2 separate regions of the Homo sapiens genome follow, and region 2 is linked to region 1. The links are contacts of gene promoters, found by promoter capture Hi-C in blood cells and fetal thymus (Javierre and others, 2016). All regions are on one chromosome and are shown on one strand. Each heading gives the region's core, a stretch centred on a gene start or on the middle of the fragment in contact. The rest is flanking DNA. Distances are from core to core; before and after follow the strand shown.

Region 1 (6,748 bases), core at 4,122-6,621:
ACAGGTGTGAGCCGCTGTACCTGACCGGTCTTCCATTTTTCTTGTACGGAAAGCCCTGCCCTGCTCCTTGAGGACTGGTGAGTACAGATGGAATTCATGTTCCCTGGCTTGAGCCCCTTCCCTAAACTCCAACTCTTACAAACCTTGGTTAATAAGGAGCTTGTCAAATTCCCACACCAGTCCGCTTTCATGCCCTCCTGGGCAACTAGAACCTTAGCGGCCTGGCTGTACAGTCCTGACTTCTGGCCCACCTTGCTGTCAATGAAGGTGATGCCATCCTGGTGTCCAGCCAGTGCACCCACAGGCTTGGGGTCATCCTCCCGCATGGTGCGTCGATCCCACACTTTGCAGATGGCATCATCTCCCCCAGAGAACAGGATTTGGGAGCTTATATCAGCAAAGGCCACTGCATTCACATCATCCTCATGGGACTCAATCTAGGCGAAAAGGAGGCCAGGATATAAGACCTCTTTCTAGGTCTTATAAAAAGCCAAAAACCAGGAGGCAGAGGCTCTATCTCAGGAGCCATACCTGAAGGGTGCGCCGGTTCTGTTCTCGGTCAAAGACATACAGGCAGCCATCATTGGCCCTGAAAGGGAAGGGATAAAGGAGGGTCCTGGAGCCATGATCGAGAGGACCAACGTGGTATATGCTCTAGAGAGTTCCACTGAGAAATCCTGCTCTGGGTCAAGCCCTTTGCTCTTTTTATACAGGAAGTGGGGGAAGAGTTAGCTGTGTTTCAAGGAGGCTTGACACCTCCAATCTCGTGCTGGGGAAATGGAGAGCAAGGGGTGAAGCAACTTGTAAATCCTGACCTTGGGAGAAGGTCTGGTTGTTCTCTGCAGCTGCCAGTGCCATCTGTGTAACAGCAGAACTCATCTCTGGCAGAACCCCCATCTTGTTATTGAGGGAAACATACCCCACAAGCACTTACCCTCCTAGTACTTCTCGTCCATCTGAGGAGACAGCAATGGAGAAGACAGCAAAGCGACGCTCATCTGGCCTAAAAGCAAGAAGGAGCTGGGTTAAGTGGACTTCCTTCAGCTTTTGTTAATCTACATAAAATCTGACAACGGTTGTAAGGCACATCCCCAGGGGAAAAAAGAAGTCTGGCTAACATGCACCATAATGCAGATGCTCAGTGAGAACCCAGAAATCATCCTGCAACCATCTATTTTACCCAGTCCTCTGGCTGACAAGATGGTGCTTCCCTCCCAGGAATGCACACAGACCCACCAGTATACTTTTTCCCCTAAACAGAACTTCCAACTCAAGAGGTTTGCTCCCAAAGAGCTTCCCTTGAGAAGTTTCTGATGAGTCTGACCAGAAAGGGAAGCCAGTACCTGAGATCCAGGGCAGTGTGTGTATCTCCCTCACCATAGATATTGCAGATATGAACTAAGAGAAGCAAGAAAAACAAGAATCTTTCAGGGATGGGGGAAGAAGAGTGGAAGTGAAGCTAGGGAAGAGATCAAACAGGGGACAAGGGTACTGGAGCACTTTGGGAGTGATTTTCCCAGGACAAAGTGAGGGATCCTGGCTCAGAGGGGACAGGCACATGGAAACCTCAGGTCCCAGGCTGGAGAGTCAGTGGAAGCCTGGTGCATACTCACTGTAATCAGACCAGCTAGAGTAGAGGAAGTGGTTCCCATCAGGGGTGAAGGCCACATCCAAGACGCTCCAGCCTACGTCGCGGGCCTTGATGCTCTTGAATTTACGGAAACGGCCATATCGGCAGTCATAGAGTCGGATTGTCTGGTCTGTGTAAGTAAAGATCAGGCAGAATTATGGGACAGTTTCCTTGTAACTTTTCTAGATTAGACATCTCCCACTCAGTGTACCTGTGGAGTCTTCCCTTTATCATGGGAAACATGGTCTGGCTAAGCATCCTTAAGCCAGGTCTGAGCTCCCCGTCTGTGGCTTTCTAGCCTCAGTCAGGGGGAATGTCCCATGTTCCAGGAAAAGATAGTTTATAGGACCAGGGTCTGGTACCTTGGCAAGCAGACATGAATATTTGACCATCTTTGCTGTAGATGCCACAGAAAGCCTTCTGAGAGTAGCTATCAGTGAAGCCCAGATCATTGGGCAAGAAGCTAGGGAAGGAGAGAGAAAGTGAGGGTGAGGGGTGCTCAGGATAAGGAGTGTCCCAATCAGCAGAATCCTAACAGAGCTGGAATATCAGAACAGTCATTCTTCCCTTTTGGCTGTGAGTGCAATCCCGTCTTTCAACCATTCCACCATCCTCTAAATTTCTACAATTTTCTACACTTTTCTACTTTGTTTACTCTCAAAGTTTCAACCCCATTTAACCTAACCTTTAATATCTCTGAGGCTCCTTTAACACCTACCCCTTCAAAGTTTAGGAGATAAGACCTATCTGGCCCTTAGAGTCTCTTCACCAAGCCCCATACTCACTGAGATATCACTCGAGACTGTTCTCCAAGGGAGAAGCTTCCCCGATGGCAGAGGCCCCGTTCTCTCTAAATGGAAGGGATTGGGGAATATTGCTAGCAGAAATAGAGGGCCACTTCAGCCATATCAAGCCCCCTCCTCCAAAGATATTGCTCTTGTTATAGAAATGGACACACACATCATAGTCTGTCCCACAGAACTCCGATGGAGGCTGGTTAACTCTCCAGCCCCAGCGCTTGAGGCTTCTACTTTGGAAAGTTGACTTCCTTTTTCTCTGGGGCTGGCAGAGCTTCTGGCTGCTTTGGCAGGCCTGCTGCCAGGCTGGGAGGTGGAGAGGCCTACCTGGTGCAACATTCGAGGAAAGCTGTGCTTCTGGGCGGCCCGCCTAAGCCCCAGCTGCCCTGTGGCCAGTTCCACTTGTGTCTTGATCTCATTGAATTCCAGCTCCCGGGTGTCAGGGGTAGCATCCACTGTGAGTACCAAGGAGAAGTTTCATCCTAGGTCTGCCAGCCTCAGAGGACAGTTAGCAGAACTGTACCCAAGCCCACCCCTGTGGCTGAATATACTGGGGCTGTAAGGACTCCTTATTCCTTAAATTATCGTACCTTCTTTCAATGTAACCTATCATTCAAAATATCACTAAAAGGTTTTCTAGTAAAAGTCTTCCAACATTAGGGGCTTTTCCTCTTACCAGGTGGGTTGTATCGATCCCCAAGACGACCATCCCAAGCTCTGTCATTCTCTTCCTCTGAGTCCAAGAGGGCCTGAATGAATTGTAAATTTGCTGCACCTCCTCCCTGCACCAACCTCACTTGGCCTCTGTGGAGAGACCCCCATTATAAAGGAGGGGACTTCTTCCCCCAAACCAACCAAATTCAGAGTCAATGGCTATCTAGCTCTTAGACCACTTGGTACTCATTTTGAGGTTTGAGGCTGACTAGACCTTGGCTGTTATTTTTGGTCTCCTATAAAACACAGTAGGAAAGAGAGTTTTACTCTTACAGCAAGAGCAAGACCAACATGCTGTGGACGTGACCTACTAAGTTGACCTCCCAGCGAGCTAAACATTCTAACATCATTTCCTTAGAACAAGAGCAAGACCAATACGCTGTGGACATGACCTACTAAGTTGACCTCCCAACAAGCTAAACATCCTCACAGCATTTCCTTCTGAGCCTCTGCCTGAGAAGTCCACCACAGAAGACAATATTCTAAGCTGGGTGCGGTGGTGTGTGCAACTGTAGTCTTAGCTACCTGGGAGGCAAGGATTGCTTGAGCCCAGGAGTTGCAGGCTGTGGTGTGCACTTGATCACACCTGTGAATAGCCCGTTCTCCAGACTGGGGAACACAGTGAGCCCTGTCTATGTCTACTAAAAACAACACAAAACACAAACAAAAAAGAATACAATATTCTGAAGGGACCCCCAAACCCATCTTCTCCTCAAAGAGCCATAAGCAAAGAAAGAAAGCCAGCTGCACCCTTTTCCAGTCAATTCCAGGTGGTCTCTCCCTTCAAGGCATTCTTTCCTCAAGAACAGGTTAGAGTCAGGGCAAATTAAACTTGTTTTTCAAGTAAATCGAAGTGGCCTCATATCATGTGTCAACTGCCTTACTAAAAAGTTCAACACTCCCTTCCCATCTCTTCACCCCTTACATCACTCCTTTCCCACTAGGACCCCCCCCTTTTTTTTTTCAAGCTTACTTGGAAAATAGACTATATTTGTGTAGTCACAGAGACAGGCTCCCTTGAATAGCCCCTCAAACACATGAGCAGGTCCTCTTGGTGACCCTCCCTAGGTAAGAACCACTCTTACTGGGTATGGAGCTGAGTGCCATGGGTGCCCAGCAGGGAAAGGCTGTTCAGCTCAAACAGAACAGCTGTCCTGAGCGAATCCCATTTCCTAACCTCTGTAATTTTCCTGCCTGGAGTTGGGATCAAGGCACTGTGGTAGCACCTGCTGGGGGTCACACCAGAGGGTAAGTTACCTGCGGAGGAGATAGGCCAGTACCTGGGCCAGATCCACATCTTCATCCTCTTCTTCCTCTTCCTCACTCCGACGCAGGCCAGCCCCTCTTCGGGGCAAGCCCTCGGAGGGGTCTCCGGACCCGGATCCTGCACTGCTGCTGTTCCGCGATCCCATCTTCTGGTCACAGCATTCTTAGGTCCTGTGCGGGGGCTCCTCCTGTCACCTCCTTGGGTTTGGTGAAAGCAAAGCGTGCTCTAGAAATACCAGGGTCTCCTGAGACGGGGTAGTAGCTATCTCTAGGAGGGTGACCCTTCCTCGGGGCTGAGATCCCTTTTCTTTAGCCTATGCCAACTACCAAGGCGTCGGGAACACAAACCTTCTCCAATCCTGTGAAGCAAAGAAAGCAAGAGTGAACCGTAGTGCGCTACCCTAGCTCACCAACTGAAGAAAGATTTGTTTTCTACACCAAACTCACCTATCGAAGTCCCCGGACTGGGGAGCGGGAGGGGTGTTGGGCGGTGTTGGATTTCCAGGTAACCTCTCTGACCGACCAATCGAAATCCCTCTCGGAAGAAAGCGCTTCACTAGCTTATCTCATCTAACCAATTAGAAGCCTTAGGACTCAAAGACCCTCGACGCCCCCACCTTATCGACCAATCAGAGCGCCCCCTTACAAAGGCCGGCAGCAGTGACAGCCAATGAAAATAGAATTTGGCCTAACACCCCTCCTTCCTCGCCTCACGCCCACGTGGTGCGCCGGGGGTGTGTACGCCATGAGGGGGAGGAAGCCGAGAAGCACCTCCCACTGAAGCCGGCGGTAACCGCCCCACGCGAGACCACCCACCAGCCAGGAGCGGTCGCAGGACCCGCAGCGGCGCGAGGCCTTGTTTACACCGACTGCCGCCACTGCGTTGGCCAACCGCTCCTCCGTCACGCGCTTCGCTCGTCACGCATCTCGCGGCTTCCTGGCCGGCGGGCTGCAAACGTCACACGACGGCCCCGCCCCCTTGGCCAGCCAACTGGACAGCGGAGCACGATGATTGATAGGTAGGCGGGAGAATGCGCGAGGTGCCTGAGGGGAGGAGAAAGTGCACACCCAAGGAGGGCTGTTAGCTCTTGCTGGGGAGGAGTAAGTGGGAACTGCCAGCTTCCTGAATCAGAGACAGCCGAACTAGGCGTAACGGCTGAGAGGCGGGGCTTAAAAAAGAAACGTTTGGTGGTTCGCTACCGAGAGGTATTTTAGCAAGGGATATAATTTACTGTCTGTCCCTAAAGATCATTTGGCATCGCACTTTTCAGACAGTGCCCAAGGGCCTCCTTTCTCCCCACTGCTTCCCCTGTCCAGCTGGAGCCGTTCTTCTGTCGCTGGCCGCAGCTCCAGTCGGTTCTGCCCTAAGGGGTGCCCAGCGTCCCAGTAGACCTCCATACCGTCCTTCCGGGCTTAGCTTTTGGAAGCCTTGCTCTTGGGACGGTCCCCTTTTAGACCTCCCTTTATCCGGTCTGACAATTTTTTAAGACAATCCCTGGCTTTCCGCCGCGGTCTTTGCAGACGTTCCCTAATACACGCGTCTTTCTGTCAAAGCTTTTCCGGTTCCGCTGTCCCCTTTGACGCTCCCTTGGCCCTCCGGGATTTGCAGACCTTCGCTAGTCCCTCTGTCCTCGCGGTGCCTCTCCGCCCCCGGCCGCGGGTCCAGGGTGCGCGCTCGCCGCCTCCTGCCCCCTCCTGCCCCCTCCTGCGGGTTTATGAGTAACAAGCCTGAGTCCAAGGCCGGGAGTTGCCACATCTCTGATCCTCGCCCTGGCTGGGTGGGGACGTGTGGGTTGAATGACCTTGCTGTCTCGGGCTCAGAGGCTCAGGGTCCGAGCTGAACTTCATTCCCTGCAGCCTGCACTTCCTTGGGAAAGCTGCGAGCTTCCCTCCGCCCGCTCCTGAGGGCAGGGATGGGAGCGAGGGCTCGTGGCCTTCTTGGGCCCTCCTGGGGCCTCTCCCAGTGAGGGCGAGGGTTTGGCCAGCTTTCGGGCGACGTCTCCTAGTCTCTAGATCCGGAGACCTGAGCTTGTCACCAGGGCTAGCTTTGATGGCCTCTGCGCTTAGAAGGGTCCTGAATGTTTGGTTTAATGTTCTAGTGTTAACGGTCTTGAAATTATTAGTAATTTTAAAGCAAGTGCCTGGTATTTTCATCTTGCACTCGGCTCCACTGATTATGTAGGCGGTCTGCTGGGCGCCCATCCTCTATTGCCAGATTACTTACTATCTGTGCTTTAACGTTTATTGAGACTTTAGGATTCCGTGGTTTCTGGGTTATCCAGCCTGGAAAATCGGGATCTTTATTTATTGATTGATTTTACCTGCGTTCTCCCAGAATGTG
Region 2 (6,748 bases), core at 2,055-4,554, 2.9 Mb after region 1:
TGCCCGCCTCGGCCTCCCAAAGTGCTGGAATTACAGGCATGAGCCACTGCACCTGGCCTTAAATTTTTCTATTTTTAGTAGAGACAGGGTTCAGTAGAGATGCCATGTTGGCCAGGATGGTCTCAAGTTCCTGACCTCAGGTGATCCACCCGCCTCAGCCTCCTGAAGTTTTGGGATCACAGGTGTGAGCTGCCGCACCCAGCGAGACCCCATCTCTTTTTAAAAAAAGAAAGCATGCAGAAATGGTTACCTAACTAACCCTGAGAGGTCAGGGAATCCTTTTTTTATTATTTTTATTTATAACTTTAAATTTATAAATTTATTCCTTCTACCTTAATCACATAAAGGGATTTTTTTTTTTTTTTTTTTTTAAATAAGACGGAGTCTCGCTCTGTCACCTAGACTGGAGTGCAGTGGTGTGATCTTGGCTCACCACAACCTCTGCCTCCTGGTTTCAAGCAGTTCTCTGTCTCAGCCTCCCGAGTACCTGGGATTACAGGCACCTGCTACTATGCCCGGCTAATTTTTTTTTTTTTTTTTTGAGATGGAGTCTTGTTCTGTTGCCCAGGCTGGAGTGCAGTGGCACGATCTCGGCTCACTGCAAGCTCTGCCTCCCAGGTTCACGCCATTCTCCTGCCTCAGCCTCCCAAGTAGCTGGGACTACAGGCGCCCGCCACTACGCCCGGCTAATTTTTTTGTATGTTTAGTAGAGACGGGGTTTCACCGTTTTAGCCGGGATGGTCTCGATCTCCTGACCTCGTGATCCGCCCGCCTCGGCCTCCCAAAGTGCTGGGATTACAGGCGTGAGCCACCGCGCCCGGCCCACCTGACTATTTTTTATTGTTTTTTTTTTTTTTTGGTGGAGACAGGTCTCATTTTGTTTCCCAGGCTGGTCTCAAAAACTCCTGGAAGATTTTAATTTTTAGGAATGTCTTTCTAATAACAGTATGGAAATGGTGTAGAGGAAATGAGATTGGAAGTAGGAGATTAATAAAGGAGATATTAAAATCCAAGAAAGAATAACGACCTGGCTTGGACAAAGGTAATGCTATGAGATTAGAGATTAGGAGGTAAAATTAGGAGCATCTCAGGATGGATGTGATAAGGTGGACAAGAACACAGATTTGGCATGATTGCTGGTTTCTAGCTTCTGGGATAGGGATAGATATTGGGGAATGAATGAAGGGAGCAGATTATAGTTTGAGGGTGGGAAAAAGAATATTTTAAACATCTTGGAGGTATTCAAGGAACATTCAAGTATAAGATGTTTTATTAAGTATCTGAGTACTATTTGAAAATCATTAGGTTTGGGCATATAGGGATGAACAAAACATGTCCCCTGCCCTCTTAGATATTATAGATCATTGAGGGAAGAAACAAAGTAAATGGCACTTTTCACAGTAAGGATCGATGAAGGAAAAGAAGAGCGTGGATGAGAAGATGGCAAGGGAACCAAAATTAGAACATGGAATTTGGGGGATGCTGCCAGGGAAGCTTAGCTACGTGGAAGTAGCTAATGGTGAAGCTCATTCTGTAAGAAAACCATATGTGAAAGCACAGATAATGAGGGGGAACAAGACTTGGCCTCCAAGTAAGAAATAATACTGGAAAATAATTACCAAGAATACATAGATGAGGGATGGAGTTAGAGAGGTAGGCAAGGACCAAACATTTCATAGCACGGGACCTTAGAGGGTCTTGTTTAAGATCCTGTCTTGGGCACAAGTAGAATCTATTGAAGGATTTTGAAGAAGAGGTCTGGTTTATCTTCTGTTGTGTAGGGAATATTAGTGATGAGAACTAAGAGGGCAAGTAGGGCAGTAAGTTTGGAGACCTATTAGAGTAGGCCACTGTCTCAATCTCTTGAAGAAAATAATCATCCCAAGCCTAACAATAACTTGCCCTGGTTTTTCAAATGAGTTTTTATTGGGTGTATTAATGAGCAAAATCAGTCTGAGTAAGATAGGTTGAGAACTGATGAGGCTCCAGGAAATTACTAATTATTTCTGATACCTTGTTGGGTCATATAATGGCTTTCTGATTTGGCAGAAAAAAGTAGCAGGACATTAATTTATGGAAGTATTCTAAACACTTGACTATGTCCAACACTGTTAAAGTTGTGAGTTTGTGTTAACTTAATCATCATCAAAACCTTGAGTAGGAGTAGATACTGTTATTCATGTTTTAGAGGTGAGAATATTGGAGTACAGAATTTAAATAACTTGCCTAAAGTTAAACTGCTTTAGTGGTTTAGCATGGATTCAACCCTGGGATTAAGGGTGCAGATTTCAACACTTAATGATAGTAGACTCCTTTCGTCACTTTGATATGTTGAACTTTTTTTTTTTTTTGAGACATAGTCTCGCTCTGTCACCAGGCTGGAGTGCAGTGGCATGATCTCTGGCTCACTGCAACCTCCGCCTCCTGGGTTCAAGCGATTCTTGTGCCTCCGCCTCCTGAGTAGCTGGGATTGCAGGCATGCACCACCACACCCAGCTAATTTTTATATTTTAGTAGAGATGGGGTTTCACCATGTTGGCCAGGCTGGTCTAGAAATCCTGACCTCGTGATCCGCCCACCTCGATTTCCCAAAGTGCTGGGATTACAGGCGTGAGCCACTGTGTCCGGCTGAGCATTCTAGAAAAACAGATTTTAGTTTGGTTAAAGTTCCAAAGAACAACTTTGGACTTTTATTATTAAAATTTTAAAACTAAATATGTTTATATTTTTGCCCTTGATTTCCCAACACCTTAAATGGCTTAAAGATGTGTATATGTGCAAGGTAGTTAATGTTTAGGTAGATGTATCTTGGTAAAATGTTACCATGGTTGTGATGGCATTGTTAATAGGGAAGCAAGCACATTTTAAAAGTGAGCTTTAGGCCAGTTGCAGCAGTTTATGCCTATAATCCCAGCACTTTGGGAGGCTGAAGTTGGAGGATAGCTTAAGGCCAGGAAAGTCTGGCAACATAGCAAGAGCCTGTCTACAAAAAGCTGGGCACGGTGGCACACAGCTGTAGTGTAGCTCCCTGGGAGGCTGAGGCGGTAGAATTAATTGAGTTCAGGAGTTTGAGGTCAGTGTGAGTTATGATTGCGCCACTGTACTCCAGCCTGGGTGACAAGAGTGAGACCCTATCTCTTAAAGTAAAAAAACAAAAGTGAGCTATCTTTTTTTTTTTTCTAAGACTTATAAAACCGAAGTGAACTTCAGTTAGAAAAAAATTATTTGTGGTTAAAAAAGAACCACGGAGACGGATGCATTAACTAAGCCCAGGGGTCCTTTTTCAATCCTCATCTCACTTGACCTGTTGGTTCCATTTAACCAGATCTCTTCCTTGAAACGTTTTTATTTTTTTTTTACTTTGCTTCCAGGTTTTTGTTACATGTTTCTGTTACATGTTAAACTTCTTTCTGTTGGAGTGCCCCATGGTTCAGTCCTTCCACTTCTCTTTTCTGTCCACACTCTGGGTCCAATTTCATTCAGATTCATTCATGATGTAATATACCACCTATAAGCTGATTTCGACACTTAAGATCAACAGCCTATACTTTTCTTTCGAATGTCATACCAATTCAGTTTACCTGCATGACAACTCTGTTGAATATCCAATATGTCAACTTAAAAGTGCAAAACTGTGCTCCTGATGTTCATGCCTCAAACCAGTCTCTTGTGTACTGTTGCCTTTTTCAGTTAATGAAACAATTTTTGTGTCTCTTGGGCCAAAGATTTTGGCTAGCCATCCTTGACTTTTACTCTTCTCACCTTTGGCCTATTAGAAAATCATGTTGGCCAGGTGTGGTAGCTCAGGCCTGTAATCCCAGCACTTTGGGAGGCTGAGGGAGGCGCATCGCTTGAGCTCAGGGGTTTGAGACCGGCCTGGGCAACATGGTGAAACCCTGTCTCTTCAAAAATATACAAAAATTAGCCAGGAGTGGTGGCAAGTGTCTGTAGTCCCAGCTACTTGAGAGACAGGCATGAGAATCGCTTGAGCCCAGGAAGCAGAGGTTGCAGTGAGCCGAGATCGCACCCGCACCATTGCACTCCAGCCTGGGTGACAGAGCAAGACCCTATCACAAAAAAAAGAAAGGAAAAAATGCTGTCAGCTCTTCAAAATATACCACTACTCATACTGTCGACACTTGGTCCAATTTCAAGCCACCCTTGTCTCCTGTGCATTATTATATATAATAGGTTTGTATTTCTTTTGTCCCTCCCCACTAGTTTTGTTCTTAAAAGTGATAGCTAGATTGATCCTAAAATGTATTGTTTGAAGGATTTTTTTTTTGGGGGGGAGATGGAGTTTTGCTCTCTTTGCCCAGGCTGTAGTGCAGTGGTGCGAGCTCGGCTCACCGCAACCTCTGCCTCCCGGGTTCAAGCAGTTCTCCTGCCTCAGCCTTCCAAGTAGCTGGGATTACAGGCACCAGCCACCAAGCCCAGCTAATTTGTTTTTTATTTTTAGTAGAGACAGGGTTGCACCATGTTGGCCAGGATAGTCTCGATTTCTTGACCTTGTGATCTGCCCGTCTCTGCCTCCCCAAAGTGCTGGGATTACAGGCGTGATCCACCACGCCTGGCCATTGAAAAATGTTTTGCCTGAAAACAAACAACCTAATGGCTGCCTTTTTCAGCATTGAAGTCAAAAATTTTTCTGTGATTTACAGGGCATCCCACGTGATTTGTTGTGTCCCTTCCCTTGCTGTTAATATACTGTGCTTCAGCCACACTGGCCTTCTTAACTGTATTGAACACATTGGATATGTTTCCACTTTAGGGCTTTTCCTTGGAATTTTCTCTGACTCATACAGTTTGGTTCCTCAGTTCCTCTGAGACTTTTTACTCAGAAGCTACCCCCTTAGTGATGTGTCTTCCCTTATTTAGCGCTTTAAGCTCCCCTTCTCCTAAATACTCTTTAGCACTTATCACCAACTGTAGAATTTGTTTTTTTCTATGTAAAGACATAAGAGATATGTCCAGAAATACATATGCCAAACAATTAACATTGATTGCCTCTGGGCAAGAAGTGGGATTTAGGAGATTTGAAACTTGTGTACTATGTGCTTAAGACTATTATAATGATCAATGTGGTAGTATTTTCCTTCTAATTAAAAAGCTTAAAAATGTACATCAACTCTTGTGATTCTGTGTGGGCATAAATAGCATAGCTAGTCTGTGTAATAGGGGTTTAGTAAGCAGTGTTAATAGTTGAAGAAACTGCTTTAAAAGGTTTAGCTGTGATAGAGTCGAGTTAGCATTTGAGCACATAGACTACCGTGTTGCCTGTATCAACATTTGGGAGAGCTTGACCATTTTAAAAATATGTATTCTCTACTGAGAAAGCATGGCTATTTGTAAGAGGTAGAGTGAATTAGAGAACTTTTTTTTTATTATTTCTACCTAATCTGATTCTGACTTTACCAGTCTGAAATATTCTTCCTGTTTTCTAATTATATTGACCTATGGCTCCTGAGTTGATTTTAAAACTGAAAAAACTCCAGGAGTTCATTGAACCAGATTTAGGCTTTTCTGGCTAGTCTTGAATAACATTTAGGAGTTTAGTAGAGTACATTTTGAACAAAAATTTTCCTCCAGTCCTCTAACTAAAATAGGTATTCTGAAGAGGATAAACTATTCATAATGCATTGTCACTCCCTATATTGATCCTTTAAATAAAATCTTCACATAAGTGGGTTTTCTAGCTTCAGAGCGAGAAGAAAAGTTTTCTCATGCTATTACCCTTAAGTTTGTGGAATTCATGCTAGAGTTATGGCTATGCTGTTTAAAATGGAGTTTTTCTGGTTTTTTTTTTTGTTTTTTTTTTGAGACTAGAGTCTCGCTCTGTTGCCCAGGCTGGAGTGCAATGGCACGATCTTGGCTCACCGCAACCTCCGCCTACCGCAACCTCCGCCTCCCGGATTCAAGTGATTCTCCTGCCTCAGCTTCCCGAGTAGCTGGGATTACAGGCGCCTGCCACCACGCCTGGCTAATTTTTGTATTTTTACAAGAGACAGGGTTTCACCATGCTGGCCAGGCTGGTCTCGAACTCGCGACCTCAGGCAATCCGCCCATCTCGGCCTCCCAAAGTGCTGGGATTACAGGCGTGAGCCACCGCAGCTTGCTAAAATGGAGTTTTATTACTCCTTTGAAAAGGAATACTAGTCAAGTGACTGAAGATTGATGTGGATTTGGGAGAGGAGGTACCTCATCTTTATCTTACCTTTGATCCGAATAAAGTAATACATGCTCATAGAACATTTTTAGAAAATACAGCTATCCAAAGATAACATTTGGGGTGTTCTTCCAGGCTTTTTGGGGCTTATATAAACTTCAAAAAGCACTGTCATACAGCATATATATTTAAGTAATAATTTTAAATTTAACCTGAATAGCTTATGTTAGTAGATACAGATCTCTGAAAAATTTGTAGTAGTTACATAGTATTATATACTCTATAATACTACATGGTACATTGTATACTTGTACTATATTTTATTTTACCAATACACTGTTGTACTCGTCCCCATTTTTTCTTTTGTAAACAAAGCTTTGGACAGTCAAAACTACAGTTGTGCATATCTTTATTTTCTTACATTTAAGCCCCAGAAATATAATTATTCAAGGGTATGCACATCTTTTTTGCCGGGGAGGTGGGCAGAGTATGCACTTTTTTTTTTTTTTTTTTTGAGACGGAATCTCACTCTAGCCCAGGCTGGAGTGCAGTGGCATGGTCTCACTGCAAGCTCCCTCTCCC

What was found. Contacts are between HindIII fragments. The CHiCAGO score rates a contact against its expected background, and 5 or more counts as called.
Region 2: a fragment that was not itself captured here is called in contact with the fragment with the promoter of DCAF11 in region 1 in 1 of 17 cell types (total CD8 T cells); the score reaches 5.4 in total CD8 T cells.

The regions. Positions count from the first base shown.
Region 1 is chr14:24,113,400-24,120,147 of GRCh38, reverse strand. It overlaps DCAF11 (DDB1 and CUL4 associated factor 11), which reads right to left and starts at 5,371. Exons shown (of 15, transcript NM_025230.5): 1 at 4,855-5,371; 2 at 4,399-4,766; 3 at 3,104-3,231; 4 at 2,755-2,882; 5 at 2,416-2,480; 6 at 1,993-2,093; 7 at 1,614-1,760; 8 at 1,344-1,398; 9 at 935-1,003; 10 at 532-589; 11 at 252-437. The coding sequence starts at 4,553. NRL (neural retina leucine zipper) reads left to right here and starts at 5,199. Exons shown (of 3, transcript NM_001354768.3): 1 at 5,199-5,426. RefSeq lists enhancers at 5,292-5,441, 5,682-5,821, 5,403-6,118. The HindIII fragment of the contact is 1,852 bases long and covers 4,112-5,963 here.
Region 2 is chr14:21,253,993-21,260,740 of GRCh38, reverse strand. All of the region lies in intron 2 of HNRNPC (heterogeneous nuclear ribonucleoprotein C), which reads left to right. Among named protein-coding and RNA genes, the nearest start is that of HNRNPC, 12 kb to the left of the region's middle. RefSeq lists an enhancer at 5,494-6,431. The HindIII fragment of the contact is 3,616 bases long and covers 1,497-5,112 here.